2 separate regions of the Homo sapiens genome follow, and region 2 is linked to region 1. Evidence: promoter capture Hi-C in 16 types of primary human blood cells and fetal thymus (Javierre and others, 2016). All regions are on one chromosome and are shown on one strand. Each heading gives the region's core, a stretch centred on a gene start or on the middle of the fragment in contact. The rest is flanking DNA. Distances are from core to core; before and after follow the strand shown.

Region 1 (4,764 bases), core at 594-3,093:
GCTCAAAAGTTATGTTTGAGCAAAAAAAGAAAATTCATGTTAATATTAACAAACTCTTGGATTCAAATCTTGTTCTACCGTATCAAGCTATGTTCAACACGGAACAGTGAAGTTAGCTAGGAACCGGAACAGTGAAGTTAGCTAGGAACTGAAAATGATACGATCTCATAACTATCTAGTTACCTTGTCAAAGCAAGTAAAACATAAAAGATGAATCAGGACAAATGGCTAAAGGGAAGAGAAGAATATAATCAAGGTGTTACTACTAACAGAGATAAGTGTTTTTTTTTTTCTCGAAAGCATACTTCTTAAAAGTGGCAGATTCTTGCTAGACGTACCAAACCATTTGTGGAAACTATCAGTTAACTTTTTACTTAAATTTTTAATCACTGATTAAACCACAGTTTTGTACTGGATCCAAACCAAATGGCCAGATGCCATAAGAAACGGCTTTATTTATATGTCACCCTCTCCTTGTCTATTATAATCAAGTTGGTAGTTAAAGCTGAAATCTATACATTCAACATGTGGCTTGTGCTTCGGATCTGGACTAAGAATACAGCTCTAAGGAGTATCTGCTGAATTTGTACAGGAAAACCCTTTCCCCTCACACCACCCAAATTAGAAAGTTTACAAAAAGCGGAACCCTTCTGATGAGCTGAGGAAACTCCAGTATTTCCCAATGCAATACCAGGCCTCATCGATTTCATTCCTCTGCACATTCAGTGGCAGGAAATGGACTGCTACCATCGGTTCACACTATCAGCACGGTGAGATTTGCACAGTTTGTGCCTACTGCTTTTGAGCGTTCTTAATCAACTAAGTGGAAGTACTGTATGACTATGCCTATTACACACACTCGACAGTTGGTGGTACCTCACCCAGCCTCAAACTCCCACGCGCCCCCACCCTTCCAAAGAAACATTTCTTGGGAGAGCACATGGAGAGAGGCAAGGAGGAGGAAAAAGGCACGTAGGCGCCTCTTCCTGAGATTTCTGGTAAAGTAGAAAGACTGGGAGCATAAATAGTGTTCTTCTTGATTTGCGAAGCTGTAGGTGGGCTCCCAAGGACTTGGAATAAAAAGGAGGGAGGTTCCCCTGCCCCGGACCCTACGCGTTAGGAGGCAAAACAGCAACTAACAAGAAGTGGGAGGAGAATGGAATCGCGCAAAGGTTTGCGCCCACAAGTTAGACAAACAACAGCCCTACCCAGTACTCGGGGTGTCCCCAAGTTGGGGCTGGGCCTTTCTCCTTCCCGCACCGCCTCCCGGGCTGACAAGAGTGAGAAAGGGGTTAAGTAGAGAAGGGGGTGCTCTTCCGCCCCCACGCCGTCTCCGCGCCTCGGCGTGGCCACTCCTTTAGCGGCTCCCCGAGTTGCACAGCGAGGTCGCGGTCATCCTTGGGAGGGGGCCCCGGGTGCCCCCGTGTTCAATGGCAGGAGGATCCCGGGGCTCTCCCTGTCCCTAAGGCCGGCGGGGGCTGCGGGAGCACTCACCAATTTGGGTTTGTTTTTCGTTTCCTCTTCATTGGCGGCCCGGTTCCCCGCGCTCCGCTTGTTGCTCCGGCCCCCACCGGGTTCCTCGCTGCCGCCTCCCGCTCCCGACGCCGCCGCCCCGGGCTGCTCCATCTTTCTCCGGCCCTGTCACCTGTGCCCTGTAACCCCACCTCTCCTCAACTGAGAAAGCACCTCGGGGCGCTCACACTGCCCCGCGCTGACTCGGCGGCACCTCTTCCTGAGGGAGAGAGTGTCTGCCCGGGAAGCTGCCGATTTCAGGCCCCCGGGACTCCAGGCTCCCAGGCACCCCCGACGCAACCACGCCGTTGCCACTACTCGGCGCTGGGGCAAGCCCTGCCCCTGAGCAGTTGCAATTACCACGGTCGCCGCCGCCCTCAGGGCGGTGTTTAGGGTGGAGGGAAAAGTAGGTGCCTATCTCTTTAAGAGGGCCTCAACACACGTGATTCTTCAAAGTGCCCGCATCGGCCGCCCGGGCGCGCAAAGCTGCTTCCTACTCCCGCAGCCGAGCCGGCCCCAGCTACTGAGCATGCCCGGCGCGGTGACTGGAGCCTAACAGAGCACTTTCAGCTGCGGTTAGGCACTGATTTCACTTCCTAGTGGCCCAGCGAGAACAGGGAGGGAACTAGTCAAGAGAAAGGAAGGGTAGCCCATTTTAGAGATGGGGAAACTGAGGCCCGGGAAGATCCGCCTGTAAGTTTCACTGGCGGGTCAACCTGAGTATCAGCTTTCACTTCTGTGGGCCACAGCACCTTCCCTCCCTGAGGCCTCTCCGGGGGTGTGGTCCTGCTACAGTCTGTGGAAAGACTTGATTGGCAAGGGAACTGGCATCCTATAGGAAAACCACCGGGAGTGCTGATTAATTGCCTCGACAGACTGTGTGTGGGTCAGAGTGGAAAGAGTGAGTGCTTTCTGTTGTCGTGATTACGTTGTGACCGAAGAAATACAGTTGTTCCTTTATTCCCTTGCTGCAGGGTTGTTGAAGCAGCAGGCGCCCACCGCTTAATCCCTAGGGGATTGTTAGGTTCTATAACCAAAACACTTACATACAGCTAGCAATTGAATTGAGTGCTATTTTCAGGTTCCCGAACTAGTTTAGAGTTGTTGTGGGGAGTGAATAAGATCATGTGTGTCAAAGCTTTGTTGTAAATGAAAATCCCTAGACAAATGCTAGGTGTTTTTGTGCAGCAGCAGGGCACTGTTGGGACGATAGTCTTAAGTCCTTGCGTCATACCTAGCATTTTGTCCTCAGGACAAAATATAGTACCCACACTGTATTTCTTCCATCCTCTTTAAATGATGCCCTTTAAAAGTAAAGGTACACACTGAGAACATTAGACGGGGTGGGTAGGATTTGAATGAACCACCATCATAGAATAGGAGCACATATGCTAGGAAAGCTACCTATAAAGTAAATTTAAATATGAAATCTATAAACATGCCATACACCTATTACTGAAGATATCTCCAGACTATGACTCCTTTTGACCTTCTCCCCTTCGGCCTAAATTTAATATGCTGAATGGAATTTGTATCTGAACATATTTATTGAGAGTGCATTAGGATGCATTTGACCATGCTATAGGTGCAAGGAGACAGCTAACTTGGGCAGTAGAATGAAAAGAACACCAGATATCTGAAAACAGCTTTAATTCTAGCTTTGTCATTGTCATTAACTTTCTTTTTTTTTTAATTCTGAGACAGAGTTTCCCTCTTGTTGCCCAGGCTGGAGTGCAAAGGTGCAATCTCAGCTCACCGCAATCTCCACCTCCCGGGTTCAAGCGATTCTCCTGCCTCAGCCTCCCAAGTAGCTGGGATTACAGGGACCCACCACCACGCCCAGCTAATTCTGCATTTTTAGTAGAGATGGGGTTTCTCCGTGTTGGTCAGGCTGCTCTCAAACTCCTGAGCTTAGGTGATCCGCCTGCCTTGGCCTCCCAAAGAGCTGGGATTACAGGCGTGAGCCACCGTGCCCGGCTGACTTTCTTTTTAATCATGGAGGTGTGACTTCTCTACTCCTAAGGTGGCAAGCTACCAAAGGACAGCAGAGAAGAGGGAATACATGCTCCCAAACAGGGTGCTCAAGGAGCCCCATGGTAACTTTGCTTTGTTGAAGTTCCCGTTTTACTTACTTAAAGTTTAGTGTATATTTTGAATTCAACTCACTACATACACACACACACAAACACAATTTATATAAATGTCTCCTCTCCTGAAAAATTGAGTCAAAATGGGTGCTTCAGAAAGACATGACCTGTTTAGCCAATGCGTAATTCCTGTTTGTGCCATAGGTGTGGTCCATAGCTGAGGGCCCTCCAAGCGCAAACATGGTTCAGTAATCTGCCCAGTAGACATTTCTTCAGCTCCTTAGAGTACACTAGGTGATACAGAGTGTCATGAGTAAGAAGGATGAAGATGACACAGTTTCCGCCTTTTAGAACTTCAGAGCCTACTGGGAGAGACAGACCATTAAAGAACTGCACTGCACTATAACAGATATGAACAGGAAGCCTTTGAAGCACATGAAAGAGGTAACTATCGGAGTGTCAGAGGCTCAGGGACACCTTCCCAAAGAAGATGATGTTTGAGCTGAGTCTTAAGGGTCTGATTCAAGTTAACATTTGTTGGCAGCCTACTAAGTGTGAGGTACTGTGCAAGGCATCATGAGTACAGTGGTGAACAAGACAGACATGGTTTGGTCTTAGGGAGCTTTCATGCTATCGGGAAAGATATATATAGTTTCACTCTTATTGCCCAGGCTAGAGTGCAATGGCGCAATCTCAGCTCACGGCAACCTCCGCCTCCCAGGTTCAAGCGATTCTCCTGCCTCAGCCTCCCGAGTAGCTGGGATTACAGGCATGTGCCACCACGCCTGGCTAATTTTGTATTTTTAGTACAGATTGGGTTTCTCCATATTGGTCAGGCTGGTCTCAAACTCCCGAACTCAGGTGATCCGACTGCCTTGGCCTCCCAAAGTGCTGGGATTACAGGCATGAGCCACTGCGCCCAACCTTGGGAAAGATATTAAAAATGTATTAAGCAATTACAAGGCAAATAAGGACAGTGAAGGGCATTCAGGCAAAGGAAATGACAATAGCATGTGCAGAAGCCCTGTGGTTAAGAAATTGGTGGGGAGCTGGGGAGACTGTTGGCAGGAGAAGCAGCAGAACAGATAAGGAGTTTCCAGATTGAAGCCCCCTACTTAATAAGTTTCATTACTGTTGTTTAAAAAGTGGAAGGGGGTCAGGCACG
Region 2 (5,120 bases), core at 2,082-4,581, 1.0 Mb before region 1:
TCATACTAAGTTTCTGAAATCTGGTATGCAGTTTACATTAACAGCACATCTCAATTTGGATGTAAAATTTTCATCAAAAATGTTTGATCTGTGTGTAGCTTCCCTATAATTTGAAAAAAAATTCATATACATAAATTGTTCCAAACACTTAAAAGCTTTCCAATAACTGAATTGAGTATAAGATCTTTAAACTTTAATCAGTTCAAATTAAATAAATTGAAAAACTTATTCTCAGTTGCACTAGCCCCATGTCAAGTGTCCCATAGCCACATGTGGCAGTGACTATTGTATTTAGCAATGCAGGTCTAAACAATATGATTACATTGTTACTTTGCTATTTTTTGGCTTTAGAAATAATCAATCACTATTCCACTATTGAAAACAAGACTTATTAACTTATATTGTCTCCAACTATATACAAATATATACACATATTCCTTTCCTGTCTTCCCATCCTTACCTTATAATTATATAATTATATTATTTTGATTAAACCGACATGGATAGTTAATAGTTGTCTTTATTTGTTCCCTTAGCTTTCTATGTACCTATTCTTTCCCATGTAAGAAATCATTCTGGGGATTCCCTTTGTCCCTGTTCTAAGCTGGATCCCATGTGACTTTTATTACAAGCCTTCCGCTTTCTTGGTTTACACCTCTATTTGGGTGGAAGATATGCCCTAGTTATTTTCTGAAAAAGGGTGCTTGGGGAGAGGGGAAAATGTTTTGAAATTTCTCAAATCTGAAAGTTTGTTTATTTTGCCCTCATAATTGATTAATAGTTTGGCTGGGTATAGCATTCTAGGTCGATAATAATTTTCTCTTAACATTTTGAAAGTTTGTGCCATCAGCTTCTAGCTTCCCATATTGCAATTGAGTTTTATGCCATTCTGAGTCTGGTTCATCCTCCTGAATGTTTGTAGTATCTCTTCTTGGTCCCAGATATCCTGAAATTTCATAGTGATGTGCTTTAGCCCTGGGCCTTTTCAATATGGAGATTTATGCCTTGTAGGAGTGGAAATTTTTCTTGAATTATTCCTTTGATCTTCTTTCCTACATTTTCTCTGTCCTCTTTTTCTGAAACTCCTTAATATTATAATGTTGAGTTTCCTGTAATAATCCTCTAATTTTCTATTTGTTTCTATCATTCTTTTTGCTCTACTTCCTAATTGCTTTCCAATAACTTTATCTTTAAAACTTTATCTTTAAAACTCATCTTTAAAACTTTATCTTTTGAGTGTATTTCTGCTATATTTTTAATTTCTAGGATATTTTCCTTATTTCCTGAATGTTTGTGTATGTGTATAAAACTTGTTATTATTTCATGGATATTTTCTCATATAATATATCTCACTGCATAGTCTGTTCCTACCCGGTTACTTTTGTTTGATTTTTATATATGTGCTTGTTTGTTGTTATGGTCTCTGTCATTCATATTTGAGACTTTCCTCATTTGTCTGGTCATCCTTGGCTGTCTGCTCATATTGAAGAATGAGAAACTGAAAAGCCAATTATAAGCTCTGAGCTTGTATGTTTCCTTGTAGGGTACTCTGGTTGAGTCATTTCTTTGGGGAATAACTGATTTCAGTATTTTTAGGTCTTTCCTGTTATGTGAGTTAGATTCACCAAAGAAAGCACTTCAGATTTCTTGCCTAGATGATGGTGTTCTGAGACAGGAGTTGGGAGAGACGGCTGGGGATCTCAAGATTCAACTAACACTCCTGTTTTCATTACAGTACCCAGTGTACATTTTGACTTAATACTTCTGTTTTCAGTATAGTACCCAACCCTCCACTGTGACTGGCATTCCCTTCCCAGAACCTCTATTTTACCTTCTGCAGAAAATAAATTCACAATCTTCTGTCAAGGTGTAGGAAGGCTGGTTCTCCAATGCATTCAGAAGAAGAGGATATTTGTTAGATCTAATTGTTTTTCAGTTTGTCTGTGTTGAGACAGAGTCTCACTCTGTTGCCCAGACTGGAGTGCAGTGGCACGATCACGGCTCACTGCAGCCTTGACCTCCCAAGCTCAGGTGATCATCCCACCTCAGCCTCCTGAGTAGTTGGAACTACAGGCATGCGCTACCACGTCCAGCTGATTTTTTTTTATTATTATTTGTAGAGATGGGGTTTCACCATGTTGCCCAGGCTGTTAATTGTTTCTTAATATAAAATTTGCCAATGTAAATTGTTTCTCTTTTCCCATTGCCAGTTTAGGATTAGGCCTTTTTTTTATTTTATTTTAAAATCACGTATTACTTGGCCATAAGCTTTCCAGCTCCCAAAATTTTATTAATATTACCTGCTCACCTCTCATATTTACTTTCCATTGGAGGCTTATGCCTTTTATGGTATCCCTTTATTTTAATTTTTGTAATGTTGTAGGAGAAATCAGAGGCTAATTTTTTCATTAAATCTGCCATCTTGAATTGGCAATCTTACCTGTCATTCTTTTGTGTCTTTTGGAAACATCATTTATTTTTCTTGTGCAAATAGTTTATGAAACCCTTTCTTTCCTGCATGCCTAACCCATTTTCTTCTTTTGTGAAAACTGCCTGTGAATTTTAAGCTGACATGATAACATCTACCTTCTCATTCTTATAGTGGTGGTGGACAATGAGGAAGTAATTCCTGGGTAAGAAAAAGTGTCGAAACCCCCTGTGTACATAAATGATATTATAGAAAACTAAAGTGTTTCTCAATTTGCATTCTTTCCCTATATAAAAATAATGTTTTAGATTGGGAGGAGGAAGCAACAACAGATGCTAAAGTTGCTCACTTTCCTGTGGTCTGACTGTCAGAACCCAAAAGACAGAGAACTCCGGCAACAAAGCCTGGACAACACTTGTCATCTTGCTAAATGACTCGTTCTGAAAGTAATGGACATACTTTCATTATCTTCATAATATCATCTCTTGCAGAAGTACCTTTGAAGAACAGATAAATGTCTTGGTGCCAAAAGACAATGCTTTGGGATAAATTATCTGTGTTCAGAACAATACCAAAACAGACGTACATCACATCATCATGCTAATTATTTCACTATGGCACAGTGGGAAATGACCTTTGTAACAAATGCCACATCAGGTAAATGGGTCATTTTACTTAAATTGCCTATATGAGATAAGACACATAAAATGGCACGATAAAAGTACAGATAAGTCAAGGCTCCAGAAAGATTTGATTCTCCCCAAACAATTTCACATAGCCAAATACAGAGTCCTGAATGTGCTACTATATGTTGCATCAAAGACTGTGACTCTTCTGATTCACTTTCGGGTGATCTTTATAACATCTGCTCTTTCATGGAAAGCTATAGCGAAAATACAGTGCATGTGGGTTTGCAGCATGAAGAAGGTGTTGCCAGAGGGCTTGTGAATAACTGACAGGATATCTTTGGTTGAGTTCTGTTGTAACAATAGGCAGCACCTAGCACAGAGCCTGGTGAGTAGTAATTGCTCAAGAAATAGCTGAATGGTGGATGGCAATGATGATGATGATGATGATGATATGATGATATTAATCTCACATAATCCAAACGTAAGAGTTGGACATATTATGGTATAATCAATACAAATTTTTCTACCAATGTATTTCTAATTCAGAATATTCTGTTTTAAGCATGGAATATTGGCCTTTTAAAAACCCAGTTTTGGAAAGATCTTTCTGGCCACTCTCTCAACTACATAGCTAGAAGTGATATGCGAAGCAAATCAGAGACCTTTTTGTGCAAATCAAGGAACTTGTAGTTTTAGTCAAAGCAATTAAATGGTCTATTAGAGAGATTACTGCCTTATTTTATCAATTCTAACTAATATATATTTTGCACATTTTAAGGCATCTCCAGTTGGGATTTTTCATATAATGAATGAGTACATTTCTCCCTACTTTTCACACCATAAAGAAAGTGTTAGTAAATCCATGGTGTTCCCTTCAATACACTTTATTGATGAAATATGGCAAATAACATCATGGAGAACACAAACTATTGGTCTAAATAGCAAGGTGCTTTTCTTAACTTATTCCCTGGTTAGGTTTAGAGAAAAGAAGAAGGGCTTCTGTAAACTGAAAAGTCAAAAAGAACTTATCTCAGACCAGTTAGGCAAGTTGAATTGGCTACCTACAAAAAGACAAAAGAGTAGGCCCCTCACTGAGAGATAAGTACCCTGGTCATTTTGATATCCAGTGTAAGTTACAGGAGGTTGAGGCCCAGCCTACAGGGTGGCTTTTTGACTACAACGTATAATTCAAAGTGATATCACAAAATTAAAGATTAGTAAAACTGATACCAAATTGTACATAAGCATACATTTCTTTACAAAGACAAAACTGAAACAAAGCAAAATCTTAAAATCTATAAGCAAATTATCTCCTTATACATTTAACCAAAGCTTTTTCGTTGTAATAACTTTTTAAAAATAGAATATGGGAATAGTGTGCTAATCCTCTTTCTAAGACACCTGTTTATACTGTATGCTAATTGCCTGGACGACATGGCTGTGCCATACTACAACCACCTGGTGGCAGCATACCTAATTTGAGGATGTGCAAGTTTTTTTCCTTTTCATTTTAACATTGTGAATATTCCCTTGAAGGTCAAAACAGCAAACTAGAAATATGAAGGACAGAAAATATCACAATACTTATTCAGGTACTTAGAGCTCATCTGTGGGCGTCTATTAGTCCACCTCCCTACGGAAATGGACTATCATGATCCCTTTCTGCCATTTACTCTTACATTTATTTTCTTGGTTGCTAATTTGAGATAAATTGGCCTTGGCATGTGTATTCAATCTTTTTTTCCTCAAGTGCTGTACAGATTGCCAAGTGTTAAGAGATGAGCTTGTGGGTTTCTGTGTATGGCTCATGAATGCTTTGATTAACTTGTTAATGAGACAGGTGGAATCTCATTACAGAAAGTTTGTCCTGATGAAAAAATGTTAAGTATATGATAATGAGGTTGCACAAACAGGACTTGTCCTGGGCAAAATTATAAGATATGTGAAGATTCTCTTCCATGCCCTGCCTTCTTTCCCCTTCCCTCATATCTACTTTAGCAGCCTTCTCTCCAAGGACCTGTTCTGGTTCTCTCCTTCCTGTCCAGGATATAGCTTCCCACCCA

What was found. Contacts are between HindIII fragments. The CHiCAGO score rates a contact against its expected background, and 5 or more counts as called.
Region 2: a contact is called between a fragment that was not itself captured here and the fragment with the promoter of DIAPH2 in region 1, in 2 of 17 cell types (total B cells and M2 macrophages). The highest score is 6.2, in total B cells.

What each region holds. Positions count from the first base shown.
Region 1 is chrX:96,681,921-96,686,684 of GRCh38, reverse strand. DIAPH2 (diaphanous related formin 2) reads right to left here and starts at 1,843. Exons shown (of 27, transcript NM_006729.5): 1 at 1,495-1,843. The coding sequence starts at 1,626. RefSeq lists enhancers at 626-1,339, 1,340-2,055. The HindIII fragment of the contact is 2,760 bases long and covers 1-2,652 here.
Region 2 is chrX:97,685,348-97,690,467 of GRCh38, reverse strand. No RefSeq gene overlaps it. Among named protein-coding and RNA genes, the nearest start is that of DIAPH2-AS1, 120 kb to the right of the region's middle. The HindIII fragment of the contact is 2,121 bases long and covers 2,271-4,391 here.